5 separate regions of the Homo sapiens genome follow, and all the other regions are linked to region 1. The links are contacts of gene promoters, found by promoter capture Hi-C in human tissues and cell types (Jung and others, 2019). All regions are on one chromosome and are shown on one strand. The core of a region is centred on a gene start or on the middle of the fragment in contact, and the rest is flanking DNA. Distances in the headings are between cores, read along the strand shown.

Region 1 (3,838 bases), core at 894-3,393:
GTGTTCTTAATATATTTTCAGCCTCTTTTTTTTTTTTTTCGAGACAGAGTCTCACTCTGTTGCCCAGGCTGGAGGGCAGTGGCGCAATCTCAGCTCACTGCAACCTCCGCCTAGCAGGTTCAAGCAATTCTTGTGCCTCAGCCACCTGAGTAGTTGGGATGACAGGCGTGCACCACCACGCCCAGCTAGCTAATCTTTGTATTTTTAGTAGAGACAGAGTTTTGCCATGTTGGCCAGGCTGGTCTTGAATTCCCAGCCTCTAGTGATCCACCCACCTCGGCCTCCCAAAGTGCTGGGATTACTGGCATGAGCCACTGCGCCTGGCCTATTTTCAGCCTTAAAAACAAAAACCCTGGAACATAGAAGTTCAGAACTTTCCTCTCTTCACAGAGTTCCTCCTCGCATCATTTCATGTTGATCCTCTTATCCCCAGTGTCTTCTGCCTGAAGGCCTATTTTGTCTGAGTTTTCTATAGGTACATCTTTTGGTTAGTTTTTCTCTAGTACACCTTTTCCCATCGTTTTACTTTTTGGTGCCCTTAGGTTTTAAATTTCCTCTTGTAAATAGCATAGAGCTGCATCTTATTTTTTCTTGGCCAATCTGGTCATCTGTGTTTTAAGAGGTGAATGTAAACCACATTTTCTACCTCTGGTTTTGTACTATATATTTACCATCCCTTTTACTTTGCTTCCTTTTTCTCCCTTTCTGCCTTCCATTATAGTTTTAATACCCATCACTACCCTTTTCTCTGCATTGGCAGTTATAGTTCCGTTTGTATTCTTTTGGTGATCCTCTTAAATATCTGAAATACACACCTGACTTTACAAAGCCAGACAATGCTCAGTCTCTTTAACCCCCTCTCAAATTGCCCTCTCAGTCTTCCATGTTCTTGTGTCTCATGCATCTTGTTTCTGTGGCCCACAAATTAATCATTATTATTCATATTGCATATTAAATGCTTGTTTAGATTCACATGTTTACCAATTTGCTCACCATTTTTCCATCTAATTTCTTCCTTTTGGGTTCCATGTCCTTGTTACTAAACTACATTCTTTAAAAATTATTTCGGCGGCCAGGCGTGGTGGCTCACACCTGTAATCCCAGCACTTTGGGAGGCCGAGGCGAGTGGATCACGAGGTCAGGAGATCGAGACCATCCTGGCCAACATGGTGAAACTCCATCTCTACTAAAAATACAATAATTAGCTGGGGGTGGTGGCAGGCGCCTGTAATCCCAGCTACTGAGGAGGCTGACTGAGGCAGGAGAATCGCTTGAACCCGGGAGGCAGAGGTTGCAGTGAGCTGAGATCGCACCACTGCACCCCAGCCTGGCGACAGAACGAGACTTCGTCCCCCTCCCCCCTCCCCCAAAAAAATGTTGATCTTCAGTCTGCGCATTCTGCTCTGGATTTTAAGCATCATTTCTGGCAGCTCTTTTTCAGGAACTGTCTCTGCAGGTCTTTCAGTGTTCGCCTCTGGAGCTCTGCTCGGGCCCGCGAGTTCTCCTGGCGTTGCCATCTGTGCCCTTTTCCTTATTCCCCATCACCTGTCTCTCTGGTGAGCTGCTTCCGATCAGCCTCCAGGTCCACGATTTCTCTTCTGTTGTCCTTTTCTGCCTTCTCACCTCATCCTCTGAGACCTGAATTTCGATGGCTCTACTTTTCAATTATATTATTCTTTTTCAAACCTGGGCGTTCATTTCTAGCATCCTGTTCTATCCTGTGTCTGACTGTGCCTCCCGCACCTTCTCCCTTCTCTCGCCCTAAGCCCCGTGAAGGCGCCGGGCCTTTGGCTCCGGCTGTTTCCCACGGCGCCCAGAACCGCGTCAGTCCTGACACAGACTCGGTGAGGGCGGGAAGTGGTGCCGTGGGGCTGCAGCCTGGCCCGCCCGCTCCATCGGCCTAGGGCGGCCCCACCGCCCTCCGGGCCTTACCTTGAGTTCGGGCTGCGGGAGAAGCTCCCGCGCTGCCCATGACGTCACGGGACTGTGACGCGCCCAGAAGCCCCGCCCCTCGCGTCCCGGTCCGCGGACCCAGGCTCTCTGCGCCGTGACGTCACGGGTCCGGGCGGGCGGGTTGTGCGTCGGCCCAATGGGAGCGGCGCACTGGCCTCCCCTTTAAGGAATGTTGTGACCTGACGTCACCGGGCGAGTTACCTCCCGCAGCCGCAGCCGCCGTGCTCAGCGCGAGCCCCGGAGCCCTTGAGCGCGAGGCGCGGAGCCCCCGGAGCCCCCAAACCGCAGACACATCCCCGCGCCCCAGAGCCCCGGCCTGCGCGCCCAGCCGGGCCCGCGCGATGCCCTCAGACCGGCCTTTCAAGCAGCGGCGGAGCTTCGGTGAGGCCCGGCAGGCGAGCTGCGAGCTCTGGGGCAGGGGTGCCGGCCGACCCCGACTGCCGCAGGTGACGTCAGCCCCGTGACGTCAGGCTCTGGCTGGACCCTCGGGCTGGGACCAGCTCCGGCCTGGGCGGGGGCTGCCCGCTTCCCCACCGCGATAGGTGCCAGGGGCTGTGGGGCCTGATGGCCCCGGGGGTGGGGGCTGGAGCTGGGGCGTGGCCGGGGGCCGCCCCTCCGGGACAGGCGGGGCGGACCTGGGCCGGCCCGACCCGGCCTCACGGTCTGGCCGCTGTCCGCAGCCGACCGCTGTAAGGAGGTACAGCAGATCCGCGACCAGCACCCCAGCAAAATCCCGGTGAGTCCCGCACCCCCAGCCCTGCCCCGCCCCCGCCTCGCGCGTTCCCGACACGACCCCCTGCCCGCCCGCCCTGCTCCCAGGTGATCATCGAGCGCTACAAGGGTGAGAAGCAGCTGCCCGTCCTGGACAAGACCAAGTTTTTGGTCCCGGACCATGTCAACATGAGCGAGTTGGTCAAGATCATCCGGTGCGTGGGCAGCCGCCGCCAGGAGGTGGCTAGGGTCGGGAGGGGAGCCGGGTTCCCGCCGAGAAGGGGTGGGAGTGGGGTCAGGGGTGATGGGACCGGGCGGTGGGCCCCTGTTCTGGGGTGGCTGGAAAGGTCAAGGTCGGGGCTGCAGTCGGTGTTGGGTCAGAGGTGACAGCTGGGGTGAGAATGGGTGTGAAAGGCTGGGAATCATTCTGGGGGTCAGGGCTATGTCCGTCCCGCAGCCAAGCCCCTCACAGCTGCATACTCTCCCGCCGGCTGCAGGCGCCGCCTGCAGCTGAACCCCACGCAGGCCTTCTTCCTGCTGGTGAACCAGCACAGCATGGTGAGTGTGTCCACGCCCATCGCGGACATCTACGAGCAGGAGAAAGACGAGGACGGCTTCCTCTATATGGTCTACGCCTCCCAGGAAACCTTCGGCTTCTGAGCCAGCAGTAGGGGGGCTCGGCCTGGGAGTCGGGCGGCCCCGGTCAGGCCCTGCCCAGAGAGCTCCTGGTTCCTGAACTGAGCTGCCTCTACCGTGGTGGGCTGGGCAGGCATGTGCCCCCCTAGTCAGAGGGCACCAACCCACCTACTCTGCCCCTGGGTGGATCCTGGGCCGGTCGTGTTAGGGTTGTCCCTCTGGGTGCTGGCTGGTGGGATGGGGGAGGGTGGGGAGCAGCTCCCAGCACCCCTGCTGTGTGGTTCATCTTTTTTTTAGGCCCCTGCCTGTCTGCCCATCTGCCCCTCACCCACCCGAGGCTCTGCCCACCGCCTGGACCTGCCCACCCCTGAAAGACTGGCCCCTGGCTCCCCGCCCCTCGGTCTCCACGTGGTGTATGGATCTGTGGTCATTGTCCCTCTGCAGAATAAAGATTGCTCAGGCCTGCCTGGCCCTGTGCCTCCAGCCGCTTGCTTGGGAGTGGGGAGGGTGCTGGTGGGGCTGCCCGCACCATCCCCGG
Region 2 (3,642 bases), core at 1,128-3,627, 350 kb before region 1:
CTCCTGAACTTAAGCAATCCTGCTGCCTCTGCCTCCCAGGTACCTAGGACTGCAGGAGCATGCCACCATGCCTGGCTCGATTTTTATTTAATGTTTTATAGAGACAGGTTCTCACTGTTGTTGCCCAGGCTGATCTCAAACTCCTGATCTTAAATGATCCTCCCAGTTTGGCCTTCCTCAAATGATCCTCCCACTTCGGCCTCCCAAAGTGCCAGAATTATAGGCATGAGCCACCGTGCCCGGCCTCATTGCCATATATTTTAATTTTATATATACTTTAAATTCTACAAAATGTTGTTGTTATTGTTGTCAGTGCTGTTGTTTTATACAATTGGCATTTGTTAAGATTTACCCACTGTTGTTAACTTAATGTTGTTCTATATTTCTTCTTTCAGTTTTGTGCTTCCATTGAGATTACTTTCTTTCTGCCTGAAAAATACCATTTAGAATGTCTTTTAATATGGGTCTACGGGTGACAAATTTTTCTCAGGTATTATTTGTCTGAAATTGTCTTTATTTCCACCTTCATTTACGAAAAAATGTTTTTGCTGAATGTAGAATCCCAACTTAGTTATTTTCTTTCATTTTGAAGATATCATTCCATTGTTTTCTGAGTTATGTTGTTTCCTTTGAGAAATTAGCAGTCAGTCTTACTTTTTGATCTTTTGCAAGTAAACTGACTTTTTTCTTGTGCTACTCCTAAGATTTTTCTCTGGGTCGTTAGCTTTTTATAGATGTACAGTCACATGCCTAGGTGTACATTTATCCTGCTTGGGCTTTGTGGCATTTCTTGAATCTGTAACCAGATAAAGATATCAAGTATATAAAGCTTTGGTACATTCTCAGTAATTATCTTCTCAAATATTGCTTGTGTCCCATTTTCTCTCTCTTATCCTTCTAAGATTATAACTGCTTACTATGTCCTATATGATTTTACATTCTTTTCTGTATTTTTCATCATTTTGTAACTCCATGTTTTAGTCTGTGTATTTTCTTCTGAATTTTCTTTCATTTCACCAATTCTGCTTTAAGCTGAGTCTAATTTATTATTAAACTCACCTAATAGATTACTCTTTAAACTTTTATTTGTAAATAATTTCATAACGTAAAGAAAAGTTACAAGACTAGTAAGAAAAATTGCAACAACTCCCATACACCCAATCTCTGATTGTTAATACTTTGTCTCATTTGCTTTATTATTTTGTGCCTGTGTGTTCACTCTCTTTCTTCAAATGTGCACACACATTCATGCACACACACATTTTTTACACATAAAATTTGAGAGTAAATTTCATACATATACATTATGACCCTTTTCTACTAAATATTTCATTGTGAATTTCCAAAGAATAAGAATATTTTCTTAAGTAACCATGGTACAGTTATCACTCCTATAAACTTATTTAGTATATTTTAATATTGATGCAATACATTATCTACTGTCTATTTTACAATTTTAACAATTGACCCAATAATGTCTTATATAGTATTTATTTTCCTTCAGTACAATCTCCTTTAATCTGGAGCAGTTCCTCAGCCATTCTTTGTCTTTTATGACATTGACATTTTTGAGGAAAAAAAATTCTTCTTTTGTGTGATAGAATTATTTTAATTTTGAGTTTATCTGATGTTTTCCCACCTGCCCTTGTTAATTTTGATCACTCCATTGAGATATTTCCATTCTTTACCCTTATAACTAATAAGCAATCTGTAGGGGAAATACTTTAAGAATGTGCATATATCTTGCATCTATTGATGATTCTTACTTGAATCAATTCTTACTATGATGGTTGCAAAATTAAGATTTTCCAACTCCAGCACTGCTTTTGAGTGACTGTAGGACTTACCAGTCAGCACTTGACATACTACTATAAGCAAGAAGCCTCCTAGAATGTTTATCCCTCCAAAAGTCACTTTAAACTTAGTTGCCATTGTAACAGTATCAACAGGTGAGACTTCTAAGAGGTGATTAGGCCATGAGGACTCCACGCTTGTGAATAGACCTAATGCTGCTATCATTATTGCAAGGGTGGGTTCACCCTTCTTGCTCCTTCTCCTCCATCCTTTCTTTATCCTTCTGCCATGTGATGCCTTCTACCATGTTATGACACAGCAAAAAAGGCCCTCACCAGATGCCAGCCCTTCTATCTTGGACTTGCCAGCCTCCAGAACTGTGAACCAATAACTTTCTTTGCATTATAAATTACCCAGTCTGTGGTATGCTTTTATAGCAGCACAAAACAGTCTAAGACAGAAAGTTAATGCCAGAGAGTGGAGTGTTGCTATAACCAACACCTGAAAAATGTGAAAGTGGCTTTGGAATTGAGTCATAGGTAGAGACTGAGACAGTTTTGAAGTGAACACTGAAAAAGTCTGTCTCTAAAGCAGCAGACTGGTCATTTTCTTCTGCGGGCCAGAGTAGCACTTCAAAAATTGCATGAAGCAGGGGCATGAACATCTGTTGTAAAAACGGGGATACTTGTACCTTGAATTTGGCCGTAATCTGGTTGATAAGAGGAATGAACTCCTGGAGGTCTTTTGCTTCACAATCTTTGAGTATATGTTCTGAAGCAGATGGGATGAACGGAAAAACTTCTTCCTCCAGGCAAATAATCATTCGATGAAGGAAAGTACAGACTCCACTTCTGAGAATACCCTTTTGTAAGGGACAACTGAGGGCCAGCAAGAATGTCTGTAAACAGTCCAGATAAACTTCGGAACAGCCACACTGTTTCACAGTCTGCTTGTTGCTGAAAGCTTTACTAGTTCGACTTGCAAATCCAACAGCATGGTTGAGACAGTCTGCTAGAGAGGCTTGCCTTTCTTCATCTTGTGCCAGCATCAAATTTTCTAACAGAATTTTAAACTTCTCCATTAGTGGAGTCAACAGATTCCTCATTAAGGCTTCTTTCCTTTCTGCCGGGTATTCATTATTAACAATCATCACTCCAACTGTCTCATAAATAAAATTTGATCATCGCTGCTCAGGAAGGACTGGTGGCCATTCTCAGGTGGAGAAAGCTTTAATAAATCTTGTATTCTATTCAAAATATCCTCAATGAAAGGATTCATTTGCTTATTGAGAGATTTGACAAATCTAGAAAACAGGTAAGCCATCTTGCTCTGAACTTTTGCACTGGAATGACGCAGACCTCTGTGATCTAAGAAAGCCATTAGTACACATGGAACGTGCTGAGGTTCAACTGTGAAAAACTTTTCATATCTAACAACAGTTTCGAAGAACTCCAACGTCACAGATGTATGCTGATAGGAACTGACTCCTGATGTTACCAGAGTTCGCATCATACCCTGCAAAGCACTAGCTTTTGAAACATCACCTGAGAAGTGAGCACCATGAGATAGATACTGGAAGAGCTTCTGCCAACATATACAGCAATCTTATTGCTACTTCAACTTCCATGAACCGTGTAGTCTGCCAATTCTGCAGTGTAGAACTAAAAACTCTGCGAACAGAGGCCAGTAGTAACTCTCGTGAAACTTGAGCAAGCCTGTCCAACACTAACTTCAGTTGTTTTCTATATTCTACAAACATGGCTTTATCTTGACCCTCATTTTCAAAGTTATATTCTTCATCATAAGTCAATTTTTTCATAACGGCCAACATGATTGCCTCCACATTAG
Region 3 (3,864 bases), core at 867-3,366, 380 kb before region 1:
TATCCCCAGGTGGGGATATCCCTCACCCTAATAATGTAAATTAACCGCTTATCTTCCCAGGTAGAGGACAAAGACAAGAACAGAAATCATCCCAGGCTGGGCGCGGTGGCTCACGCCTGTAATCCCAGCACTTTGGGAGGCCGAGGCGGGCGGATCACGAGGTCAGGAGAACGAGACCATCCTGGCTAACACGCTGAAACCCCGTCTCTACTAAAAAATACAAAAAAAAATAGCCGGGCATGGTGGCGGGCGCCTGTAGTCCCAGGTACTGGGGAGGCTGAGGCAGGAGAATGGCGTGAACCCGGGAGGCGGAGCTTCCAGTGAGCCGAGATCGCGCCACTGCACTCCAGCCCGGGCGACAGAGCAAGACTCCGTCTCAAAAAAAAAAAATAAAAAAAATAAAAAATAAAATAGAAATCATCCCTCTGGCCACCCTGAAACAAATGCATATTTGACTTCTTCCTCTACTCTATATTTGTTATCTTACAGAAAATGCAGATTTACTGAGTGCCAGATAAATTGGCTGTTCCTCTTTCCCCTCCTGCCTGCTCCGTCCCCTTTAAATACTGAAGTCCTCAAAACCCTCTTTGGACAACACAAGCCACAGATCTGTAGTAAGTTGTTTCTCTTTTTCCTGGGTGTGTTCTCAGCCTTTGCACAATAAACCTCTAAATCAATTGAGACCTGTCTTAGACACTTTTTTGATTTACAGTTTTTGTTGTTTGAAGATGCCTTGGCTTGTCCTCCCTCCTAAGATTTGCTGGAATCTGACTACTTTGGGGTAGTCTTGGAGCTTCTGCTATTAAACCCTTTTCTTAAAATGTGCTAGGGCTGCCTAGTTGCTCTTCTATGTAAAGAAAAACGTCTCTGAAAGAGTGTGTTGATTTGAAAAGTATATTCATCATATTCCAGGAACAGCTTACATTTTCCCACACTTTCATCCTTAAATAAAAAGTTGGCTGGGTGCAGTGGCTCATTGCCTGTAATCCCAGCACTTTGGGAGGCCGAGGCAGGCGGATCACGAGGTCAGGAGATCGAGACCATCCTGGCTAACACGGTGAAACCCCGTCTCTACTAAAAATACAAAAAATTAGCCAGACATGGTGGCAGGCGCCTGTAGTCCCAGCTACTTGGGAGGCTGAGGCAGGAGAATCGCGTGAAACCGGGAGGCGGAGCTTGCAGTGAGCCCAGATCGTGCCACTGCACTCCAGCCTGGGAGACTTTGAGACTCCATCTCAAAAAAAAAAGTTACAAATTAAGGCATCATACACTCATAATTGTCAATAGAATCTATCCCTGGCGAGTTATCAAAAATATGGGCTTAGCAGTAACGTCTTAATCACAAATAACTTTTCAAATGTACAAAGAAAATCTTTTTTCTCTGACTCATACAGTGAGATACAAAAATCAAATTGGTCCCTTAAGATAGGATTAGAGTTGATAAGATCATCACCCTTAGAATTAGGAGGTAAACGTTTTAGACCTGGAACAAAGTTAGCACCTAGTCGTGCAAATAAAGAAAGGACTCTAGAGTAGAGAGAACAATCCAGGGACTTCCTGGGTCATTTATTTATGAATTGACTTTTGACCCTTCTCATCATAGGCTGTGACCTATTCTTAAAGTTTGATCTTTTTTCAGTCCTTTTACAGCATGGCAGTATTTCCTTAAGATCTACCAAGAATCCTAGCGAGACTTAATTCTGTTAGCCTAACAATATGAGAAATTCAGAAAGTTAAGCGTACTTACTTCCTGGACTTTTACCCCTGTTTCCTATTCTCTAGTCCCCCTCCTGAAATTAGTGCTGATCAGAACAGAAGTTTGAAGAAACTACCTGAGGCTGGAGAAAGTAGCACCAGAAAAGAGCAGAAGGAACAATCCTCAGAGTACCAGCCCCAACAAGATAAAATTCACTATGTCTGACATTCAAAAAAAGTTATCAGGCCTGCAAAGAAACAGGAAAATGTGATCCATAATGAGGAGAAAAATCAAATCAATAAAACAGATCAAGAATTATACAGAAGATAGAATTGGTAGACAGAGACATTAAAACAGTTCTTATAACTGTATTCCACATGTTCAAGAAGCTAGAGGAAAGATTGAAAATGATAAGTAGAGTCATGGAAGTTATTTTAAAAGATCTAAGTCTAACTTCTAGAGATGAAAAATATGGTATTTGATATGAAAAATACAATGGATAAGATTAACAGCAAATTAAACATTGCCAAAGGAAAGACTAAATAACTTGAAGACATAGCTATAAAAACAATAAGAAATGAAACACATAGAGAAAAAAGACTTTAAAAAGAGCACATCAGCGAGCCTTGAGACAACATCAGGTGGCCTAATATATGTGTAATTAGAGACCCCAAAGGAGAAGGGAGGGTACAGAAAAAAAAGAAATAATGACCAAATAGTAATGAGCAGATAAAGACCCAAAATTTTTCAAATTTGATGAAAACTATAAACCCATAGACCCAAGAAGTTCAACAAACCCTACATGGGAAGCATGAAGAAAATGACACCAAGGAACTTTATAATCAATTTGCTTAAAGCTATTGTTAAAGAAAAAAATCTTCTTCATCTCCAGTGCCTTAGGTTAGGTCCTCTTCATTTCTTAGCTGAACTTTTACAATAATCTCCAACTAATTGCCCTGCCTCTAATATAATTCCCCACCAGTCTTTTCCTCTTCACCACTGTTAGAGAACTCTTCACTGACCATTGACTAAAATCCAGGCTCTTAGCACTGCAAGTAAAGCTTTGTTAGCATGGCATATGTGACCCTTTTCACTCTCTCCAATCTCGGCACCCTATCCTCCACATCTGTTCCCAGTCCTCTAACCACATGGTACAGTTCGTGGAAAGAGCTGTACTGCTCTGGCCTCTATGCCTTTACATATGCTATTGTCTGTCTGGAAATGTCCTTCTCTTCCTTGGTTTATTAATCTGTGGCCCCCACTAATCTCTAAGCTCCTGGAAGACGACAGACTGTCTCTTTTTCACTGCAGTGTTGGGCTGAAAAAGGAAATAGAGTGGAATTTGAGAAGGGGTGTGGAAGGCAGGAGGAGGGAAGGGAGAAAAGAACAATAGAAAAAACAAGACTGAAGAGCTTAGCCAAAGTGTTCTATTTCCACAAAGAAGGTAAATATAGAAGAGAGAAGGCCGGGCATGGTGGCTCATGCCTGTAATCCCAGCACTTTGGGAGGCCGAGGCAGGAGGATCACGAGGTCAAGAGATTGAGACCATGCTGGCCAACACGGTAAAACCCCGTCTCTATTAAACAATACAAAAATTAGCTGGGCATGGTGGCATGTGCCTGTAGTCCCAGCCACTTGGGAAGCTGAGGCAGGAGAATCACTTGAACCTGGGTGGCAGAGGTCAGAGGTTGCAGTGAGCCCAGATTGCGCCACTGCACTTCAGCCTGGCGACAGAGCGAGACTCCGTTTAAAAAAAAAAAAAAAAAAAAAGACAGAGAGAAAAGATGGGCAAAGAGGTGTAACGAAGAGGTCTAGTAGAAGGGTGGGGCTTGAACACAGGGAGTGACTCCTCTTTTAGTGAGTTGAAAGAAAGAAGTGGAGGAGATAGAGCTTAAGGGAATTTACTACTGGCAGTTTCGTTTCCTTCCTAAAGTAGGAGACAAGGTCATGTGCTGCAAAGAAGGCTTGAGGAGAATGGAAAAGGCTGTGACATAGAATAACCACTCACATTCAAAACAGTGTACTGTGATCCGCTGAAGACTTCAAATCAGAGCTGAAAACCAGGACAAAATATATCCTGTCCTCCTCCTAAACATACCCTACAATATCTCCTACTGGCTCTTCCTTCCCTTTTATAAAAAACCATCTGCCTAGACTCTCTAGACAGA
Region 4 (3,441 bases), core at 66-2,565, 300 kb after region 1:
CAGGAGCCTGTTAAGTGCGAGGCAGGGATGTCTAAGGGCCCTTCCCAGACCCCCTCGTTTGAGGCCGCCTCCAGGTGAGGGTGGGATAAGGTGGGGAGGGGGTCTGAGGAGCAAACTGGAAGAGAGGGCCTCTCTGGCTTGGGCTCCAAATCTCAAAGATTCTACCCTTCTCCATCAACCTCATGTCTCTCCCAAATCCCCAGGCCCCACTGACCTAGATCATGAGTCACGTTGAAGCCATCTTGGGCCACAGCTGCTGCAAAGGCCAGGACTTGGGACCATGGCAGCCTGGGGGGGCCGGAGAGCAGGGGGTGGAGGAGGTCCTGGGGGAATGAGGAGGGGTCCGGGGGGAGGGGGGTTCCTGGGAAGGAGAGTCCTGGCAAGGGAAGGGGATATTAGGAGGGGGAGTTGGGAAAGGAAGAATCCAGGGAAGTAGGAGAAGGCCACCCAAGGAGAGATGCAAACGGGGGTCCCTGGTCCCCAGGGGGAGGGTTGTTACCTGCCATAGAGCTGGTGAGCTTCATGTAGCCCCTTCACCATTCCGGGAACCCCCACCAAGAGCCCAGGCTGGGCAAGGCGGGTAGGCGAGGGAGAGAGGAGACCAGGTCACTGGAAGGGGGGTGCTGGGCTGAACTCCGCAGAGCCCCAAGCCAGGGATGGCTGGCACAGGGGAGAGACACAGGCCAAGTATCCCAGGGGAGGGACAAGCTTTCCCAAGCAGGCACCCCTCCCATCTCCCTGACTTCCTATCAGCAAATGCAGAAAGGCCTCTTTTAGCTGCCGTAGTTGGGGGATTTATAAATTAAGCAAAACTCTTTTAAGAGCCAGGACATAACCAGTGTAGAAAGACACCTGTCTACATTGGATTTCACCAACCCCTGCCTTTTTTTTTTTTTTTTTTTTTTTTTCCTGTTACCCAGGCTGGAGTACAGTGGCATAGTCATAGCTCACTGTGGCCTCCAACTCCTGGGCTCAAGTCAAGCGATCCTTGGTGCATGCTACTGTGCCTGGCTAATTTCAAAGCATTTTTTGTAGAGACAAAGTCTCACTATGTCACTCAGGCTGGTCTCAAACTCCTGGCCTCAAGCAATCCTCCTGCCTTGGCTTCCCAGAGTGTTGGGATTACAGGTGTGAGCCACTGTGCCCAGGCAACCCTACCTTTTAAAACGGTGGACAAAGGACCTTCATTTAACCTATTCAGTTTCACCCCACCATTACTCTGAGCTCTGAAGACTCAGGGGTGTGTTTGGCTTTTGCCACCGCACTAAGTACCCATTTTTCCAAGTTATTCGATATCTTCTTTTTCTTTCAGCAGACAGTTGGTTTACTTCTGGCAATTCCCCTCTAATCTTCCAATATATCAAGGGCTGGGAAAGTTATAGTCAACTGGCTCAGAGTGAGATGTGTGAGTTTCATTGCATCAACTTCGTGACATTTCAGGGTACTCAGTAGCCTTTTTTCTTCCTTCCCACGTGCCAGATAGGTAAGATTCCCAGAGAAGTAAGGTTCCAGATTTTCTAGTTCATTATTTTATCTTGGGGGCTGCCTGACTCTCTCATAGCCTAAGAGAATCCTGCTCAACTCTTTTTCCCACTCCCCTGGTAAATACTTAGCAAATTAATGCTTGGGTTAGCAGAAGGGCAATGAAGAGAGACTCCCCTGAACTCTCTCTTCTCACCAGGGTCCCCACCTTGGTCTCCCAGGATCTTTGCAGGGTCTCTTCCCTGAGGGCCCCTGGTGCGGACTCCCGGAAATCAATTAGGTGGCTCTCATTTCGTCGGATGTCATGTACCAGCATCACGCCCCCACTGGGAGAGACACAGAAGGGGAAGTGTGATGATAACATGCTACCCCTCTGTACAATGAATCTGCTGCCCCTCCACCCCCAGTGGTGAGAGCTGTAGGCTCAGTTTTTCATTTGGGGTCAGGTGTCTGAGCTCCCTCCCCAGCATGGATTCACAGACTCAGCCACCCTAAGAGGATGGGAGCAAAACCAAGAGGGTTGGAGACCCAGGGTCCATGGACCTCTTCTATCCTGTCACTGGAGACTTTAATCCCTGATTAGGAAAAGCCCAGAGACTGGCAGAACAGGATGTTCTGCCCCATGCCCCCACCCTGGACCAGAGCTGGACCCCTGCCAGCTTCCTGCACCTGTCTACTTGGTATGTCCCTTGCCCCTCCCCCAGGACTGGATTATGTAAGGATAGAACATGCAAAACCAAAAGAGGAATTTCTTTGGTACGGCTTGGAGAGCTGGTCTTACAGGAGCCAAGATAGGAACTTTGTCAGCTTGTTCCTTTTCTGTAGCTTATTTACGTCTAAGATGGGGGCTGCAAACTTAAATGCCCACAGCCAAATGACAAACTAAGGCAAGCAGGACAGAGAAGAGGAAGTGGTAGAAACTACGGCAAACTGGACAGTGCATGCCCATCATGGGAAGCAGCTTCTATTCCACGCCAGGTAACTTCAGCCATGTGAGAATGCGGGCCCAAGTTGTTATCGGATTTCCCGATTGTTCAAGAGATGTTGGAAATCTGGATTTTTATGAAAATTCTCAACTTTTTAACAAAAGCAAACAAAATTTTAAGACAGTTCAGTGTCTAAACCAAACCAGTCTGTGTGCTGGGTGTTGCCCATGGGTGGCCAGCTTGTAACTTCTAAGAGTTCTTAGTGCAGGGTGTATTTTTGGAGGACAGAGGGTGCAAGGCTTTTCATCAGACCCATAGGGATTTATGATCCTAGAAGTTGAAATATCTCTGCCTTAATTGATGACAGTATACCTCCACCTGTGCATCTTAATTTATGGTTTACAAATTTCTTTTTCTAGTTAAAAAAAAAAAAAAAAAGCTTCTGAAAACACTTTCAGGTTTTCCATAAGGTAGCTTTGCTCTTCTGACTCCATCCAGGGAGAAGGGGGTGAAATTTGGTGTAGAAAGAGAAAATGCAAGGAGTTGGGGCCCAAAAGCCCCTCTCCCTAAGTTAGGAGTGCTGCACATGAGGCCTACAGACCTGGAGGCAAGAAGTAGGCCTGGGGGACCCCGACCTCCACTGCTCCTTACCCGCCCAGGCCAGAACTGTGTGGAGCCACGATACCCAAACACAAGGCTGCTGCCACCGCTGCGTCCACAGAAGATCCCTGTTTACTGAGCACCTCGATGCCCAGTGAAGTGCAGCGGGCAGCATCGGTCACCACGGCACCCTGCTGGAAGATCTGGGAGGGGAAAGAGGACTTGGTGGGGGCAGGAGGAGCTGTCCACCTCCCTAGGGCACCTCCACTAGCCCTAGAACTCTACGCGGCATGAAGGTCGAAGCCCTGCCCCCTTGTTGCCTTGACTCTGCCCTCATTACCCCAAGTGCCTCCTAATGGATCTGTCCTTATTCTTCCTTGTTCTGTCTCCCTCATGCCCTGGAGCTCCTCTCTTTGGGACCTTCCTCTCCCAA
Region 5 (3,633 bases), core at 1,121-3,620, 290 kb before region 1:
GTAGATACTAGTCTATTTTATCACTTGCTATCATACAATATACATAAATCTATTATAAAAAATTAAAATTTCCCAAAACATATGTACACACAGACAGTACATACCATTCAAAATAGAAAGAAAATAACCAAATGTAAAGATGTAGTACTAAATCATAACTGTGTAAACAACTGCAGTACATACTGTACTACCATCATAATTGTGAAGATACCTCCTGTTGCCATTGCGGCATGCTCAGGTGTTGCGAGTACGTGCTTACAACGCTCTGTGAGCTAATCATCTCTGCACAAGGAGTCTCACCAGGAAATCACATATTGCAGTAAAATGTGATCCCTCAAGGTTCTCGTGTATTTTTCAATGTGTTTAATGCAATATTGTAAACCTTGAGTAGTACCAAGGGACCCATACTAGGTGCTACTAGTGATTCTGGAAGTGTTCCCAAGAAGCAAAGAAGAGTCATGACATTACAAGAAAAAGTTGCTTGAATTACTTGATTGATACTATAGGTTGAGGTCTGAAGCTTTGGTTGCTTACTATTTCAGACAGACAATACATCTTGTAAACAGATGAAGTAAACTTACGGTATCAATAAATACAGTACAGTACTGTAAATGTATTTTCACTTCCTTATATTTTCTTATAATCGATCTCTACTTATCCAATAATTTTCTTAATATTTTATTTTCCCTAGTTTACTTCATTTTTTTTTTTTTTTTTTTTTTTAGAAATGGGGTGTCACTCTGTCACTCAGGCTGGAGTGCAGTGGCACCATCTCGGCTCATTGCAGCCTCAACCTCCCAGGCTCAAGTGATCCTCCTGCCTCAGCCCCACAAGCAGCTAGGACTACGGGTGTGCACCACCATGCCTGGCAGATTTTTGTATTTTCAGTAGAGATGAGGTTTTGCGGTGTTGCCCGGGCTGGTCTCAAACTCCTGAGTTCAGGCAATCCGCTGCTTCTGTCTCCTAAACTGCTGGGATTACCTGCATTAGCCACCATGCCCAGCCAGTTTACTTGATTATAAGAGTACAGTATATAATACATATAACATAAAAAGATGTTAATCCACAGTTTATGTTATCAGTAAGGCTTCCTTCTGGCCAACAGTAGGCTATTAGTAGTTAAGTTTTTGAGGAGTCAAAAATAATATGAGGGCCAGGCACGGTGGCTCACACCTATAATCCCAGCACTTTGGGAGGTTGAGGTTGGCAGATCACTTGAGTCCAGGAATTCAAGACCAGCCTGAGCAACATGATGAAACCTCATCTCTACAAAAAATTTAAAAAATTAACTGGGTGTGGTGGTGTGCTCCTGTAGTCCCAGATACTCAGGAGGCTGAAGTAGGAGAATCGCTTGAGCCTGGGATATCGAGGCTACAGTGACTTGTGATCATACCACTGCACTCCAGCCTGGGCAACAGAATAAGACCCTGTCTCAAAGAAAAAAAGGATTTTTGACTGTGTGTAAAGAGTTTGTGCCCCTAACCCCTGCATTGTTCAAGGGTCAACTGTATATAATTATGATAGAAAACTAGTATCACTTACCATAAATAGAAGGTAACTATAAAAATAAGTAAAGTTGGCCGGGCACAGTGGCTCACACCTGTAATCCCAGCACTTTGGGAGGCCAAGGAGGGTGGATCACCTTAGGTCAGGAATTTAAGACCAGTCTGACCAACATGGTGAAACCCCATCTCTACTAAAAATACAAAAATTAGCTGGGTATGGTGCTGCACGCCTGTAATCCCAGCTACTCAGGAGACTGAGGCAGGAGAATCACTTGAACCTGGAAGGCAGAGGTTGCAGTGAGCCAAGATCACACCACTGCACCCTAGCCTGGGCGACAGAGCAAGACTGTCTCAAAAAAAAACAAAAGCGGAGGGGGGGAAGTTAAAACATTGTTAGTAAATTCTGGGTGAATGGATGGTATTGCCTACCAAAGGCTCTAAATTTGAGGCCTAAATCTCTGTGTTAAAAGGCATAATGGCCAGGCACGGTGGCTCACGCCTATAATCCCAGCACTTTGGGAGGCTGAGGTGGGTGGACCACAAGGTCAGGAGATCAAGACCATCCTGGCTAACACGGAGAAACCCCGTCTCTACTAAAAATACAAAAATTAGCCGGAGGTGGTGGCGGGCGCCTGTAGTCCCAGCTACTTGGGAGGCTGAGGCAGGAGAATGGCGTGAACCCGGGAGGCAGAGTACAGTGAGCCGAGACCGTGCCACTACACTCCAGCCTGGGTGACAGAGCGAGACTCCGTCTCAAAAATAATATAAAATAAAACAAAAAATAAAAGGCAGATTAGGCCAGGCACGGTGGCTCATAACTGTAATCCCAGCACTTCAGGAGGCTGAGGCAGGCAGATCACCTGAGGTTAAGAGTTAGAGACCAGCCTAGCCAACATGGTGAAACCCCGTCTCTACTAAAAATACAAAAATTAGCTGGGCGTGGTGGTGCACGCCTGTAATCCCAGCTACCTGGGAGACTGAGGCAGGAGAATCACTGGAACCCGGGAGATGAAGGTTGCAGTGAGCCGAGATGGCACCACTACACTCCAGCCTGGGTGACACAGCAAGACTCCATCTCAAAAACAAACAAACAAACAAACAAAAAAGGCAGATTATAAAGTGTTAGAAAGGCACTAAGGACACGTTAGCACCAAACTGACCCTTTCAAGTTGAAAAAGATTGAAAAAAGAATCCTTTTTTATTGTATAATTCAGGATCATTTAACATTCACGTACCACCTAAAATCATACCACCATTAACACAGGTTCCCACTTTGGGAAATACTGGACTGAGGCATTGCTGAAATGCACACCTTATTCCTGTCTTAGTGTGCCTCAGTTTATCATATCAACTGTAACCAAAGCAAGGAGCACTGGATTAGGTATTAGGAGGTAGGATCTGGCACTGTGTGATCTTGAAAGTCCCTGCTCTTTTCTAGGCCTATTTTGTTGGCTGTAAAGTGAACAAGCAAGATGAGATTATTGACAGATAAAAATATATAACTGACAAATATATTTATATGCTAAGCACTGGGAACATAGCAGTGAATAAGAAAGATATATCTTATCCTTGGTCTCATGGAGTTTACATTCTTGTGGAGAAAACAGGTGAACAGCAAGTAAATCAATAAATAGGTAAATAAATTCAGATGTTAAAGAGTGCAAAGAAATTACAGCACGGTAATGAGACTGAAGGGAAGAGTGGTCTGGGAAGGCCTCTGTAAGGAAGTAGCATTTAAATAGAGTGAAAAACTCAGTAACCTAGAGCAGCAGCGTCCAATAGAAATACAATGTGAGGCCAGGCGCGGTGGCTCACATCTGTAATCTCAGCACTTTGGGAGGGCGACAAGAGTGAAACTGGCTCTCAAAAAAAAAAAAAAAAAAAAAAAAGAACTGTGATGTGAGCTACATAATTTTAAATTTGCTTATGGCCACTTTATTTATTTATTTTTTTTGAGACAGAGTTTTGCTCTTGTTGCCCAGGCTGGAGTGCAATGGCGCAATCTCCACTCACAGCAACCTCCACCTCCCCGGTTCAAACAATTCTCCTGCCTCAGCCTCCCGGGAGTAGCTGGGATTACAGATGTGCCACCATGCTGGGCTAATTTTTGTATTTTTAGTAGAGACGG

Evidence for each region. Contacts are between HindIII fragments. The study calls those that stand out against the background at their distance.
Region 2: a contact is called between a fragment that was not itself captured here and the fragment with the promoter of MAP1LC3A in region 1, in 6 of the 25 tissues and cell types used here (dorsolateral prefrontal cortex, heart left ventricle, hippocampus and 3 more).
Region 3: a fragment that was not itself captured here is called in contact with the fragment with the promoter of MAP1LC3A in region 1 in 5 of the 25 tissues and cell types used here (IMR-90 fibroblasts, dorsolateral prefrontal cortex, lymphoblastoid cells and 2 more).
Region 4: a fragment that was not itself captured here is called in contact with the fragment with the promoter of MAP1LC3A in region 1 in 1 of the 25 tissues and cell types used here (spleen).
Region 5: a fragment that was not itself captured here is called in contact with the fragment with the promoter of MAP1LC3A in region 1 in 5 of the 25 tissues and cell types used here (bladder, dorsolateral prefrontal cortex, lymphoblastoid cells and 2 more).

The regions. Positions count from the first base shown.
Region 1 is chr20:34,556,575-34,560,412 of GRCh38, forward strand. It overlaps MAP1LC3A (microtubule associated protein 1 light chain 3 alpha), which reads left to right and starts at 2,144. Exons shown (of 4, transcript NM_032514.4): 1 at 2,144-2,334; 2 at 2,634-2,689; 3 at 2,773-2,879; 4 at 3,162-3,771. The coding sequence starts at 2,295. The coding sequence ends at 3,324. RefSeq lists silencers at 1,846-1,935, 2,276-2,325. The HindIII fragment of the contact is 19,125 bases long and covers 1-3,838 here.
Region 2 is chr20:34,211,118-34,214,759 of GRCh38, forward strand. It overlaps a transcript of ASIP not described here and the pseudogene XPOTP1. Among named protein-coding and RNA genes, the nearest start is that of ASIP, 28 kb to the right of the region's middle. The HindIII fragment of the contact is 4,701 bases long and covers 28-3,642 here.
Region 3 is chr20:34,172,459-34,176,322 of GRCh38, forward strand. No RefSeq gene overlaps it. Among named protein-coding and RNA genes, the nearest start is that of EIF2S2, 62 kb to the left of the region's middle. The HindIII fragment of the contact is 6,088 bases long and covers 1-3,864 here.
Region 4 is chr20:34,859,755-34,863,195 of GRCh38, forward strand. It overlaps GGT7 (gamma-glutamyltransferase 7), which reads right to left. Exons shown (of 15, transcript NM_178026.3): 3 at 3,060-3,211; 4 at 1,691-1,808; 5 at 500-567; 6 at 215-288. Among named protein-coding and RNA genes, the nearest start is that of GGT7, 11 kb to the right of the region's middle. RefSeq lists an enhancer at 3,279-3,441. The HindIII fragment of the contact is 5,237 bases long and covers 1-3,441 here.
Region 5 is chr20:34,264,090-34,267,722 of GRCh38, forward strand. The region is part of intron 3 of ASIP (agouti signaling protein); the gene reads left to right. It also overlaps a transcript of AHCY not described here. Among named protein-coding and RNA genes, the nearest start is that of ASIP, 24 kb to the left of the region's middle. The HindIII fragment of the contact is 9,736 bases long and covers 1-3,633 here.